4 separate regions of the Homo sapiens genome follow, and regions 1, 3 and 4 are each linked to region 2. The links are contacts of gene promoters, found by promoter capture Hi-C in blood cells and fetal thymus (Javierre and others, 2016). All regions are on one chromosome and are shown on one strand. Each heading gives the region's core, a stretch centred on a gene start or on the middle of the fragment in contact. The rest is flanking DNA. Distances are from core to core; before and after follow the strand shown.

Evidence for each region. Contacts are between HindIII fragments. The CHiCAGO score rates a contact against its expected background, and 5 or more counts as called.
Region 1: a fragment that was not itself captured here is called in contact with the fragment with the promoter of OSGIN1 in region 2 in 1 of 17 cell types (M2 macrophages); the score reaches 5.9 in M2 macrophages.
Region 3: a fragment that was not itself captured here is called in contact with the fragment with the promoter of OSGIN1 in region 2 in 2 of 17 cell types (monocytes and megakaryocytes); the score reaches 6.5 in monocytes.
Region 4: a contact is called between a fragment that was not itself captured here and the fragment with the promoter of OSGIN1 in region 2, in 1 of 17 cell types (neutrophils). The highest score is 5.3, in neutrophils.

Annotation. Positions count from the first base shown.
Region 1 is chr16:84,099,620-84,102,471 of GRCh38, reverse strand. It overlaps MBTPS1 (membrane bound transcription factor peptidase, site 1), which reads left to right. Exons shown (of 23, transcript NM_003791.4): 2 at 365-851. The coding sequence starts at 689. Among named protein-coding and RNA genes, the nearest start is that of MBTPS1, 16 kb to the left of the region's middle. The HindIII fragment of the contact is 780 bases long and covers 904-1,683 here.
Region 2 is chr16:83,951,797-83,954,683 of GRCh38, reverse strand. It overlaps OSGIN1 (oxidative stress induced growth inhibitor 1), which reads right to left and starts at 1,444. Exons shown (of 6, transcript NM_182981.3): 1 at 1,314-1,444. RefSeq lists an enhancer at 1-631 and a silencer at 1,120-1,169. The HindIII fragment of the contact is 5,629 bases long and covers 1-2,887 here.
Region 3 is chr16:84,152,421-84,155,458 of GRCh38, reverse strand. It overlaps DNAAF1 (dynein axonemal assembly factor 1), which reads right to left. Exons shown (of 12, transcript NM_178452.6): 4 at 661-882. Among named protein-coding and RNA genes, the nearest start is that of DNAAF1, 8.6 kb to the right of the region's middle. The HindIII fragment of the contact is 1,342 bases long and covers 592-1,933 here.
Region 4 is chr16:84,135,817-84,138,850 of GRCh38, reverse strand. All of the region lies in intron 1 of HSDL1 (hydroxysteroid dehydrogenase like 1), which reads left to right. Among named protein-coding and RNA genes, the nearest start is that of HSDL1, 7.8 kb to the left of the region's middle. RefSeq lists enhancers at 918-1,513, 2,708-3,034. The HindIII fragment of the contact is 1,703 bases long and covers 581-2,283 here.

The DNA.
Region 1 (2,852 bases), core at 44-2,543, 150 kb before region 2:
TTGAAGATGCCTAAAAAAAATTTTCCCGTGAAAGCAGTGAGTAATAAGTAAATAAAAATGAAATAATATGTTTCATGGTTGTATGGCACATTAATTTGTCTTAAAACCAGGATATCTCTTTTACCCTCTTATTTATTTTATTATTTTATTATTTTAGACATAGGGTCTCACTTTGTTGCTCAGGCTGGACTCAGACTCCTGGGCTCAAGTGATCTTCCCACCTCAGCCTCCCAAGCAGCTGATCTACAGGCACCTGCCACCTTGCCTGGCTGACCCACTTGCTTAAATTATAAATACAACTAAATCATACCTGGCTATGTCAGTTTGCTACTAATGTCTGTGTGCACTGTTTTTTGTTTCATAGATTGGCTCACAGTGGTTGATTGATCAACCCCATTGGACGTTGGTTCTGTGGTACAAATGGAGTACAGGACTCAGTCGTCACGGCCTGAGTGAGAGAAGCCTTATTTCCAAGATGGAGAAGAAGCGGAGAAAGAAATGAAAGCCTCTCTTCAGGCTGAACCACAAAAGGCCATGGGATTTAACTTTTATTTATGTTGGGCAAGACTGTAAGATGGCTGATTAGTAATGTTGCAGCTTTTAGCTGAAACAAAAATTCACTTTTAATCAAGAAGAAAAAAGTGTGATTTGAATATATGCAATTTTATGATCATATTCGCTTGTGACCATGAAGCTTGTCAACATCTGGCTGCTTCTGCTCGTGGTTTTGCTCTGTGGGAAGAAACATCTGGGCGACAGACTGGAAAAGAAATCTTTTGAAAAGGCCCCATGCCCTGGCTGTTCCCACCTGACTTTGAAGGTGGAATTCTCATCAACAGTTGTGGAATATGGTAATGATGTTGTCTTAAGTATTAGGAACTCCCATCCTATTTTTTTAAAGCTTACTTAATATAAAATTAGCTATTGCTGAATAACATGTTCCTCTTTTCTACAGTAAATTTCTTTCTTTTTTTTTTTTTTGAGACAGAGTCTCACTCTGTCACCCAGGCTGGAGTGCAGTGGCATGATCTCGGCTCACTGTAACCTCCACCTCCTGGATTCAAGCAATTCTCATGCCTCAGCCTCCCAAGTAGCTGGGATTATAGGTGACTGCCACCGTCCCTGGCTAATTTTTTGTTTTGATTTGTTCTGTTTTGTTTTGTTTTGTTTTTGAGATGGAGTCTCACTCTGTTGCTGAGGCTGGAGTGCAATGGCACGATCTCGGTTCACTGCAACTTCCACCTCCCAGGTTCAAGCAGTTCTCCTGCCTCAGCCTCCTGAGCAGCTGGGACTACAGGCACCCGCCACAACTCCCAGTTAATTTTTTCTATTTTTAGTAGAGATGGGGTTTCACCACATTGGCCAGGCTGGTCTCGAGCTCCTGACCTCGTGATCCGCCTGCCTTGGCCTCCCAGAGTGTTGGGACTACAGGCATGAACTATCGTGCCAGGCCTTTTTTTTTTTTTTTTTTTGTATTTTTAGTAGAGACGGGGTTTCAGCATGTTAGCCAGGCTGGTCTTGAACTCCTGACCTCAAGTGATCACCCTCCTTGGCCTCCCAAAGTGCTGGGATTACAGGCATGAGCCACCGTGCCTGGCCTTCTGTAGTAAATTTCCAATGGGTTGAGTGCACAGCACATGAATGTTAACTTTGCTTAAGTTTGTTTTCCCAGTAGAGTAAGCTTATATGATAAAAGGAAATTGACATGAATTATTTACCTACACCTTCTTTTCTTTTTCTTTTGGAGACAGAGTTTTGCTCTTGTCGCCCAGGCTGGAGTGCAGTGGTGCCATCTCAGCTCATTGCAGCCTTGGCCTCCCAGGCACAAGTGGTCTCCCACTTCAGCCTCCTGAGTAGCTGGGACTACAGGCACCTGCCACCGTGCCCAGCTAATTTTTTTATTTTTGTTTTTTCTTTTTTCTTTTTTGAGATGGAGATTCACTCTTGTTGCCCAGGCTGGAGTGCAATGGCACCATCTCAGCTCACCGCAACCTCCACCTCCCAGGTTCAAGCGATTCTCCTGCCTCAGCCTCCCGAGTAGCTGGGATTACAGGCATGTGCCACCATGCCCGGCTAATTTTGTCTTTTTAGTAGAGACTGCGTTTCTCCATGTTGGTCAGGCTGGTCTTGCACTCTTGACCTCAGGTGATCCTCCTGCATTGGCCTCCCAAAGTGTTGGGATTACAGGCATGAGCCACTGTGCCCGGCCTGCCCAGCTAATTTTTTTATTTTTTGTTTCACCATGTTGCCCAGGCTGGTCTTAAACTCCTGAGCTCAAGCAATCCATCCACTTCGACCTCCCAGAATGCTGGGATTATAGGCATGAGCCACTGTGCCCAGCCTACACCTTGATTCTTTGGAACAGGTGCCATTGTAATTGGTGAAGGTGGGGAGCTGGGAGGTGCAGAATGTTTATGTTCTAAAGTTTGAGTGACCAGATGTGAAGAACTGAGCAAATAGTCTCACATAATCCACTCTGGAATTTTGTTACTGTTTTCGTTTTAAGAAACACTAACTGAGCATTCAGTTCTCTGAATTTCTTTTTCCTACTTGATAAAAATTATATACATTTCTTTGTTGTGTATTCAAACTTCTGTAGGTATTTGCTTTTTAAAAAAATATCACGGGTATCTGGTTTCGAATGATGTATTCTTTGTGGTTAGGTGATTCATAGAGATCTTTTTTTTTTTTTTTTTGAGACGGAGGCTTGCTCTGTCACCAGGCAGGAGTGCAGTGGTGCAATCTCTGCTTACTGCAATCTCCGCCTCCCAGGTTCAAGTGATTCTCCTGCCTTAGCCTCCCAGGATTATAGGCGCCCACCACCACACCCAGCTAATTTTTTGTATTTTTAG
Region 2 (2,887 bases), core at 195-2,694:
GGATGCCACATACATGAGGTCACCACCCAGGGGCTGGACCTGAGAAGTCACTTCCCGTTCAGAGTGACACAGGACGCCCCAAAGTCCGAAGCAGCTTGACGCTGTCACTCATAACCTCGGACAAATATGCTGCCAACTTACAAAAGAGAGTTCAAAAGTTTCATTTCAATTCCTTTTGTGCTTTTTAGTTTTACGGAGTTGGAAGAATCAATTTTTAATGTTATCTTTTTAAGTCCCTTTAATTGAAGATGGCAGATGTTGATGGAAAGAAGTTAACATTAAAAATTGATGTTTCAAATTTCACAAAGGCAAACAGGATAAAAGAAATGAAAACAGTTGCACCTTCGACTGACGTTTCTTTCAAGTGTGCGGCATTTGTACTTCTGAGGTTGTTAAAGCTGCAAACTGCTCTGAGACTCTGGGACACCTGTATGTCTGCGTTTCTTTGGCACCTCTAGTGGCCATTTACTCCTTTGCCTTTGAAGACACCCCAGGAGGTGGGTGTTCTTATCCCCATTGTGCAGAGGAAGAAAAGCTGGTCAGGAGGAGTGGGCGTCTTGCCCCAGGTCACCTAGGAGGGTCCAAGACCACGGCCATGTGACAAATCTTAGTTCTGCCAAGTCCCCTCCAGTAAAACAGCTGATTACAGGGAGACCAAGAAAGTGACACGAAGCCCTGGGGGCGCTAAAGTGTGAGGGGGTGGTCTGTCCACGCAAGCGGCACTTGCCATTTATCACAGACGAGCCCTCGCCCCAGTGCCGCACACCTGGAGCCCAGGGTCTCCTGCAGCTCCCCAGCCTCCCAGGGGCCGCCCTCCCAACCCGCCGCACTCTTGAGCCTCCTGAGAGAAGCTAAGTCGCTGGGACCTCCAGGGATGGGGGCTGTTCATGGGCACCCAAGGGCTCTGTCCCTCCTGAGCAGGAGAAGCAGAAACCCAGAAGGCACCCAGCCTGGCTGCCGACCCAGTGGCCTTGGAACAGCTGGGCAGTAAGCCCGGGCTGGCCACACCCCTCTTTCCTGCTAGGAGCGGCGGTCACATGGCCCAGGGTACGCTGGGACTGTGGCCGCTTCAGCTGCTTGGCTGAGGGTACCAGGCACCTGGACAGGGACACAGCTGAGGATCTGGGAGGAACCTGGTGTAGGGGAGAATCCTGCCGGGCTCCAGAGAACCCAGGCGAGGGCCTCCACTCAGGACCACCCGGGACCCCCGCCTGGCGCCAGGGCTCTGCAGACCCTCCGGTCCAGCTGGGCTTGCCACGGGTGCCTGGGATGTGCCTGATTCCCTGCCCCGGAACCTGGCCCCGGACACTCACCTGACAGGCAGTGGTGCAGGAGCCCAGTGAGCCCGGCCAAGTTGTGCACTAGGAGGGTCAGGGGAACACGGATCACAGAGTCCCCCGCGAGATCGGGACACCCATTACCCTGTGGGGATCCAAGAGGCTCTGAGAGGCCAGAGGGAAGTGAGGGTATTTCACGGGGAGGGAGGAGGCGGCGCAGGCAGTGGGCGGGGCCAGGAAAATCACTTTCATAAGCGTGAGTCAGCAGGGGCCCGTGATGAATGAACTTGCACACTGGGCGGGTGTCACGCTGCCTGCCTCATGGCCAGCCTTAAAGGGCCCCTGCTGGGCGGCCTGCCAGGGGGCCTAGGGTGGCGCTCCCTCCCAGCCACCTCCCCCTAGCCAGACCCCCATCCCTGGGGCTCAGTCTCTGGAGGAGGAACCAGTGACCTCTGAATGAGCCAGCCTGGCCTTTGCCATAAGCGAAGAGGAGATGGCTTTGTCCCGCACACAGTTAAAATAACAGTACCTTTAAGTGGCGAAACCCCGTCCAGTTCCCGCATTCCACCTGGATTTCACTGCACCCTCCAATCCCCAAAAGCCCTCTGGCACCAGCCTGCCTGGGCTGCGAATCCAGCTTTGCCATTTCCCAGCTGCAGGGCTCTGGCAAGCTGCCTTAGGGCCCGCACCTCAGTTTCCTCATCTGAAAACTGGGGCCAAGTCACAGATTGTCTCTACCAGAGTGGCCGTGAGGGTTTACATGACATCCTTCTTGTCTGCCATGCTTAGAACTTGAAGCCTGCTCCCAGGCTCTTCTCTCCTGTTTTATGTGGGTAGCACTGCACACCCCACACCTTGCTGTTTCTTAATTATTATTATTTTGAGAAGGAGTTTCGCTCTTGTTTCCCAGGCTGGGGTGCAATGGCGCGATCTCGGTTCACTGCAACCTACGCCTCCCGGGCTCAAGTGATTCCCCTGCCTCAGCCTCCTGAGTAGCTGAGATTACAGGCATGTGCCACCACGCCCGGCTAATTTTGTATTTTTGGTAGAGATAGGGTTTCACCATGTTGGCAAGGCTGGTCTCGAACTCCCGACCTCAGATGATCCGCCCGCCTCAGCCTTCCAAAGTGCTGGGATTACAGGCGTGAGATGCCACACCTGGCCTATTTCTGAATTATTTTATTGTCTCTCTTCCCAAACCAGAATGTGAGCTCTGTGTGGGCAGGGAAGTATATTCGTGACTGCTCTACACAGTGTCTAGAACAGCGCTTAGGACACATAGGCACTCAACATCGGTTAAACAGAAGGGAGGCAGGGAGGGAGGGAAGCAGGGGGGGAAGGAGGGAGGAAGGCAGGGAGGGAGGGAAGTAGGGAGGGAAGGAGGGAGGAAAGCAGGGAGGGAAGGAGGGAGGGAAGGAAGGAGGTAGGGAGGGAAGCAGGGGGGGAAGGAGGGAGGAAGGCAGGGAGGGAGGGAAGTAGGGAGGGAAGGAGGGAGGAAAGCAGGGAGAGAAGGAGGAAGGAGGAAGGGAAGAGGGAGGGAAAGAGGGAGGAAGGGAAAGAGGGAGGAAGGCAGGGAGGGAGGGAAGGAGGGATGGAAGGAGGGAGGAAGG
Region 3 (3,038 bases), core at 13-2,512, 200 kb before region 2:
CAGGAGGTTTGAGACCAGCCTGGGCAACACAGTGAGACCCCATATCCACAAAAAGTAGAAAAACTTGCCAGGTCTGGTGGCACATGCCTGTGGTCTCAGCCACCTGGGAGGCTGACGTGGGAGGATCGCTTGAGACCAGGAGGTCAAGGCTGCAGTGAGCTCTAACTGCACCACTGCATTTCAGCCTGGGTGACAGAGCAAGACCCCATCTCAAAAAGAAGCAAAGCAAAACAAAACCAAAAACACTTCTTGGCTGGGCATGGTGGCTCACGCCTGTAATCCCAGCACTTTGGGAGGCCAAGGCGGGCGGATCACGAGGTCAGGAGATCGAGACCATCCTGGCTAACACGGTGAAACCCCGTCTCTACTAAAAATACAAAAAATTAGCCAGGTGTGGTGGTGGGTGCCTGTAGTCCCAGCTATTTTGGAGGCTAAGGCAGGAGAATGGCATGAACCCGGGAGGCAGAGCTTGCAGTGAGCTGAGATCGCGCCACTGCACTCCAGCCTGGGCGACAGAGCAAGACTCTGTCTCAAAAAAAAACAAAAAAAAGACAAAAAAAAACACCACTTCTTGCCCATAATATAAAAGCTTAGAACATCCCTCAGGGGAAGGTGATGGACATATGGCAAACAGACACACTGCTTGCTGGGTACCCTTACAGAGGTTTTCAATGGTCTTGATGTAATTGTTGCTGAGGTTAAGAGCATCCAGTTTCTGCAGAGGTTCCAGGTTCTCAATTTTACGGAGCAAGTTCATTTGCAAGAAGAGGCAACGCAACTCAGTTTGGGCCTCCAGGTTTTCGATTTTCTGTATTCCATTGCTCTGCAGCCAGAGACAGCGCAGCCCTGTGTACTCTTCCAGGTTCTCAATGCGATCAAAACCTAACAAAAAGGAAGCACGTGGGAATTAAGCTCCTACTCCCAGGGCAGAGGGGTCACGGTCACCCTTGTTTTTGCCTACTATTAGGAACTGAATGTCTGTGTCCCTTCAAAATTCATACATTGAAATCCTAACCCCTAATGTGATGGTATTAGGAGGTGGGACTTTTGGGAGGTGATAAGGTCATGAGAGAAGAACCCTCAGGAATGGGATTAGTGGTCTCATAAATGAGGCCCCAGAGAGCTTCTTTGCCATCTTCACCCCATGAGGATACAGCAAGAAAGTGCCATCTGCGAATAAAAAAGCAAGCTCTCACCAGTCACCAAATCTGCCAGTAGCTTGACCTTGGACTTCCTAGCCTCCAGAACTGTGAGAAATACATTTTTGTTGTCTACAAGCCACCCAGGCTACGGTTTCTTGTTACAGCAGCTCAAAACGGACTAAGACACCTGCCTACCTGGCATCCACACCTCCTTCCTCCAGTAGCAACTTTTCTTGGAGGAACCATCCTTTTCCTAATATCACCCAACGGCTCTCTGGCAGCCTATCAGAGTCACGGTGACTCATTCGGGGGTGGCCACACTTAGCCAAGCAAGGCGAACTTTGATGAATCCTAGGGGGTCTTGCTGAAAAGACTGGTAGTCTTTCTGCTGGAATTACCCACCTGGGAGGGTGGAGCCTACTGCTGCCTTCATGGTGGGGAGTGGGTGGAGGTGGGGGTGCAGTGGGGGTAACCCTGCCTTGAAAATGTTCCCACCAGGCCTGACCCTAGTGCAAACTGTGGGCCTTGTTTTGTTCTCTTTTTCAGTTTTATGAGCCAAATTTACGGTTAGGAAAACAAATCTTTTAGTTTCCTTTAGTAACTCGTCATCAATGTGTAATTCATGCCTTGACCTACTATTACCAACACTTTTTAAAGTTCTTTATTTTGTTGCCTGAAAAAGTTTTTATTAAAAAATTCTAATATCAATGGTGAGCAAAATAAAAAGAAATGCACCCATGTTCCTGCCAACAGATAATCCGTTTTCATTTTTCTCTCTCGCCTTCCAAGCTTGCTATAAGCACAAGTAATATTTAACATAGTTATAGAATACACTTAAACACAGGCATTGTATAGATAGACTTTTTAAAATCCTATATTTTTTCCACAAAAATTTTGGTTATTTTATTTCTTCAAGTTTTATTTTAAGTTGATGGGTTCCTGTGCTGGATGTGCTGGTTTGTGGCATAGGTAAATGTGTGCCATGTGGTTTGCTGCATAGGTCATCCCATCACCTAGGTATTAAGCCTAGCATCATTAGCTGTTCCTCCTGATGCTCTCCCTCCTTGCAAACCCTCTCCACAAAAATTTTTATAGTGGAAGTATTTGCCATATTGCTCCAAGGTCTTCATGCTGAAGTCAGTATCTATAAAAGATAGGATTTTTTTTTTCTTTAAGATAGCCACAACACCACTGTGACGTCTAAACAACAGTTCCTCAACGTCATCATCAAACAGCCAGTAACTGGTCACATTTCTTTGTTGTCTTTGTTTCCAAACTGTTTACTGTCTGAATCAACATACAAATAAGGTCCAAACCTTGTAATTAGTGGATGTCTCTTAAGTCACTTTTTTTTTTTTTTCAGATGGAGTCTGGCTCTGTTGCCCAGGCTGGAGTGCAATTGCACAATCTCGGCTCACTGTAACCTACACCTCCTGAGTTCAAGTGATTCTCCTGTCTCAGCCTCCTGAGTAGCTGAGATTACAGGTACCCGCCATCACCACACCTGGCTAATTTTTGTATTTTTAGTAGAGATGGGGTTTTACCATGTTGGCCAGGTTGGTCTCGAACTCCTTACCTCAGGTGATCCACCTGCCTTGGCCTCCCAAAGTGCTGGGATTACAGGTGTGAGCCACCGCGCCCAGCCAACTTTTTTTTTTTTTTTTTTTTTGAGACAGAATCTTGCTCTGTCGCCTAGGCTGGAGCGCGGTAGCACAATCTTGGCTCACTGCAAACAGCCTCCTGGGTTCAAGCGATTCTCCTGCCTCAGCCTCACAAGTAACTAGGATTACAGGCATGCACCATCACACCTGGCCAATTTTTGTGTGTGTTATTTTTAGTAGAGATGGGGTTTCACCATGTTGGCCAGACTGGTCTCAAACTCCTGATCTGCCTGCC
Region 4 (3,034 bases), core at 183-2,682, 180 kb before region 2:
TTTTGACCATAATTGTCCCGTGACGCTTTTGTAGTTGTAACGTTTCCTGTAGGTTTTTGATGACTCCTGCCCTGTAGAAGTAGAAAATGCTTAAAAGATAATAGGGACTTGCTCTTCTTTTCCTAGTTTGGGGACAGTTGTGGTTTTGTTTTGTTCACAGATGTTTTAGTTTTCTGCAGAGATGAGAAAACAAAGCTTAAAAATTTTTTTAAATTATTTTATATTTTTCCAACTTCATCGAAGTATAATTGACAAATAAAATTATATAAATTTAAGGTGTACAACATGATTTGATATATGTATACTTTGTGAAATGATCACCACAACCAAATTAGTTAACACATTCATCACCTCAGTTACTTTTTTATTTCTTTATGGTGAGAACACTTGAGATCTACCCTCTAAGCAGATTTTAAGCCTACAATTTGGTATTGCTCACTATGGTCACTGTACTGTACATTAGCTCTCCAGACGTATGCATTTTATATTTGAAAGTTTATACCCCTTTGACCAAAACTTCCCACCCATGACCCCACCTCTAGCAACCACCATTCTACTCTCTGTTTAAGAAAATAAAGCTTTAGAATAAGTTCTTGCAGGTAGATTGTACATGAATCAGAATTTTACTGTGTTTTAGTATTGCTTTCCACATCATGGGTTTCTCTAGGTTGCAGGCTGCCTTAGTTGGTTTTGAGCTGCTATAACAAAATACCATGAACTGGGTGGCTTGGAAACAGCAAACACTTACTTTTCGCAGTTTGGGAGGCTGAATGGTCCAAGATCAAGGTGGTGGAGCCCTCATTATCTGATCGCCTCCCAAAGGCCCTCCCTTCTAAACCATCACCTGGGGGGTTAAGATTCAAGACAAGAATCAGGGAGTGGGGCGGAACGCTCAGACCGTAGCACAGGTTAATAGCTTTCGCTAATCAAGCCACAAAACAGTAACTAGTCAGATACCTAAAGTAACTTTGACGAGGCTTGTTATCTACATATGCCTAAGTGGACTTCTAGGCTTAAATGTGTGATAAATTCCTTTGAAAGTTTCAGTGAGAGGCTATGAGCTTTTGAAATTTGGTGGCTCTGGGGAAAGTACTGATTTCTTTTGTCATGAGAAAAATGTTATTTTCCATCATGTACAGAAGGGTGGGGAAGAAGATTGAGAGCAGGGAATGAGTTTTAATTTCCAGTTCTCTAACATCTTTGGCCCATCAGGGTGTGAGTGAATGTGTGAAGTGTCTGGCAAGGCTGAGGAGCAGCAGAGGCCACAGAGCCTTGGCTCTCCGTGTGGCCCTCCTTCATCCCCAGCTGAGTAACCAGGGCTCAGGAGCCCCCCTCCTCCCCTGCTGCGTTACCTTCCTAAACAAGCCCCACCAGCTCCCTCCCTTGGTGCTCAAGGAGGAGGTCCATGCACTCCAGTCTGGCGTGAAGGCATCTCCAGTCTGCCTCTCCCAGTCTCCTTCACGCCTGTGCGCCTGCACACATGGGGCGTCACACAGGACAGCACAGCCTGTGCTGTGCATGCGGGGGACTTCCTAATGTTTCCCGAGTAGGCCAGACCCTTGACGGTGCCGAGCCTTTCTCCATGGGCCCGGGCCAGGGAGGTCCCTTCCCTCCTCTCTGCCCAGAAATTCTGCTCACACTTCAAGACCCATTTCACCCCAGTGGCGCCCTTGCCACCTCATGTTGCAGTTGCTCCGTTTATCTTTCTCTGACTTCTGTGTATACCGGGTGGCACGGAGTCCTGGTTTATTCATGATGGTGTCCTCAGTCTCTGACACTTTGTATTTTTCATTGCTGTTCTAGAAGTTTGGTTTTCCATGTAGATCTCGAGAGACTGTAGGACCAGTGACCGTGTGTGTTTAGGCCTCTTCGCTGTGTTGTTCACTATCCATTCCTAACTTGGCATTTGAATGTATCAGTCTTCTGTGGGTTTTGTGGATGTGAGTCAGATTTCTTTGTCTTGAGCTGCCTCTAAGGAATGAAGAACTTGGGTTTCTATCCATCAAGGCTGAGGACCAGACCTTGAATGCCATCAGCCCCCCTGATGCTCTGTGATTTTTAAAATATACATAGCAACAATAATATTAACACACGTTTAAGGTACTTGCACACGATGGCGCTCCCCTGACAAGAGGTGAGGGGTGTCTAGTGGGGGCGTTGAGAAGCTGGGCCATGATGGGCTTGAAGCCCCTCAGCCCCAGGTTCCTGTACTCACCTCTGCAGTGGGTGCATCTCCTCTGCTGGCCTGAGTGGGAGGTCCCTGGTGGGTTTAGCACACAAGCTTTTCTTTCTGTAAAGGATCAAAGGAATTTGTGGGTGGTCCGCTCCTGAGCTGAGGGCTGAGCGCTGGACAGGAAGACTGCCTGTGAGCTGCAGCCAGAGACTTGGTAGTGTTGAGCTTCTTTGTGCCAGGAATTGTGGAAGGTGCTGGAGAAACAGAGAGGAGTAGAATCTGGCCTCTGCCCTGGAGGACTATAGCCTGCTGGGGTGGTCAGAGACAGAACAGTTGCAATGCAGTGTGTGTGGTGGAGGAGAGGGAAAATGTGGACCAGGGGTTTCCTTTCATTTCCTCCTTAAAGCATCTGACCCACTCACAGCCTAGGGGGGCTGCCCCCAAACACTGTAGGACGCCTTCCTCCCTGCCACCCTGCCAGGAGATTAGACAGGTGGTGGGCACCTGAACTAAGGTGGGCGAGCCAGAATCCCTGCCAGGAATTTGGAAAGAGAAGCCAGGGCAGCCCGTGGCAATGTGGATGTTCCAGGGAACGCTGCAGGTGGAGCTGAAGAAGGGGTGTGCAGAGTGAGGCAGTGGGAGGCCCAGGTGAAACCCAGACAGGCACCAGGCAGAAAAAGGCACCGAGGACAGCTGTGGCTGCTCTCTTCCCCGATGCCGGCCTGGTGCCTGGGCGGTGTTTCCCCAAGGGCTCCTGGGATTGGAATGGGCTTTTGTCCCATTTGATGAAATGTTCCCTAGGAAAAAAGGCATAGGAAAAGGGGGCACCCTCCAGCTGTGCCTGAGGACGCATGGACTGTG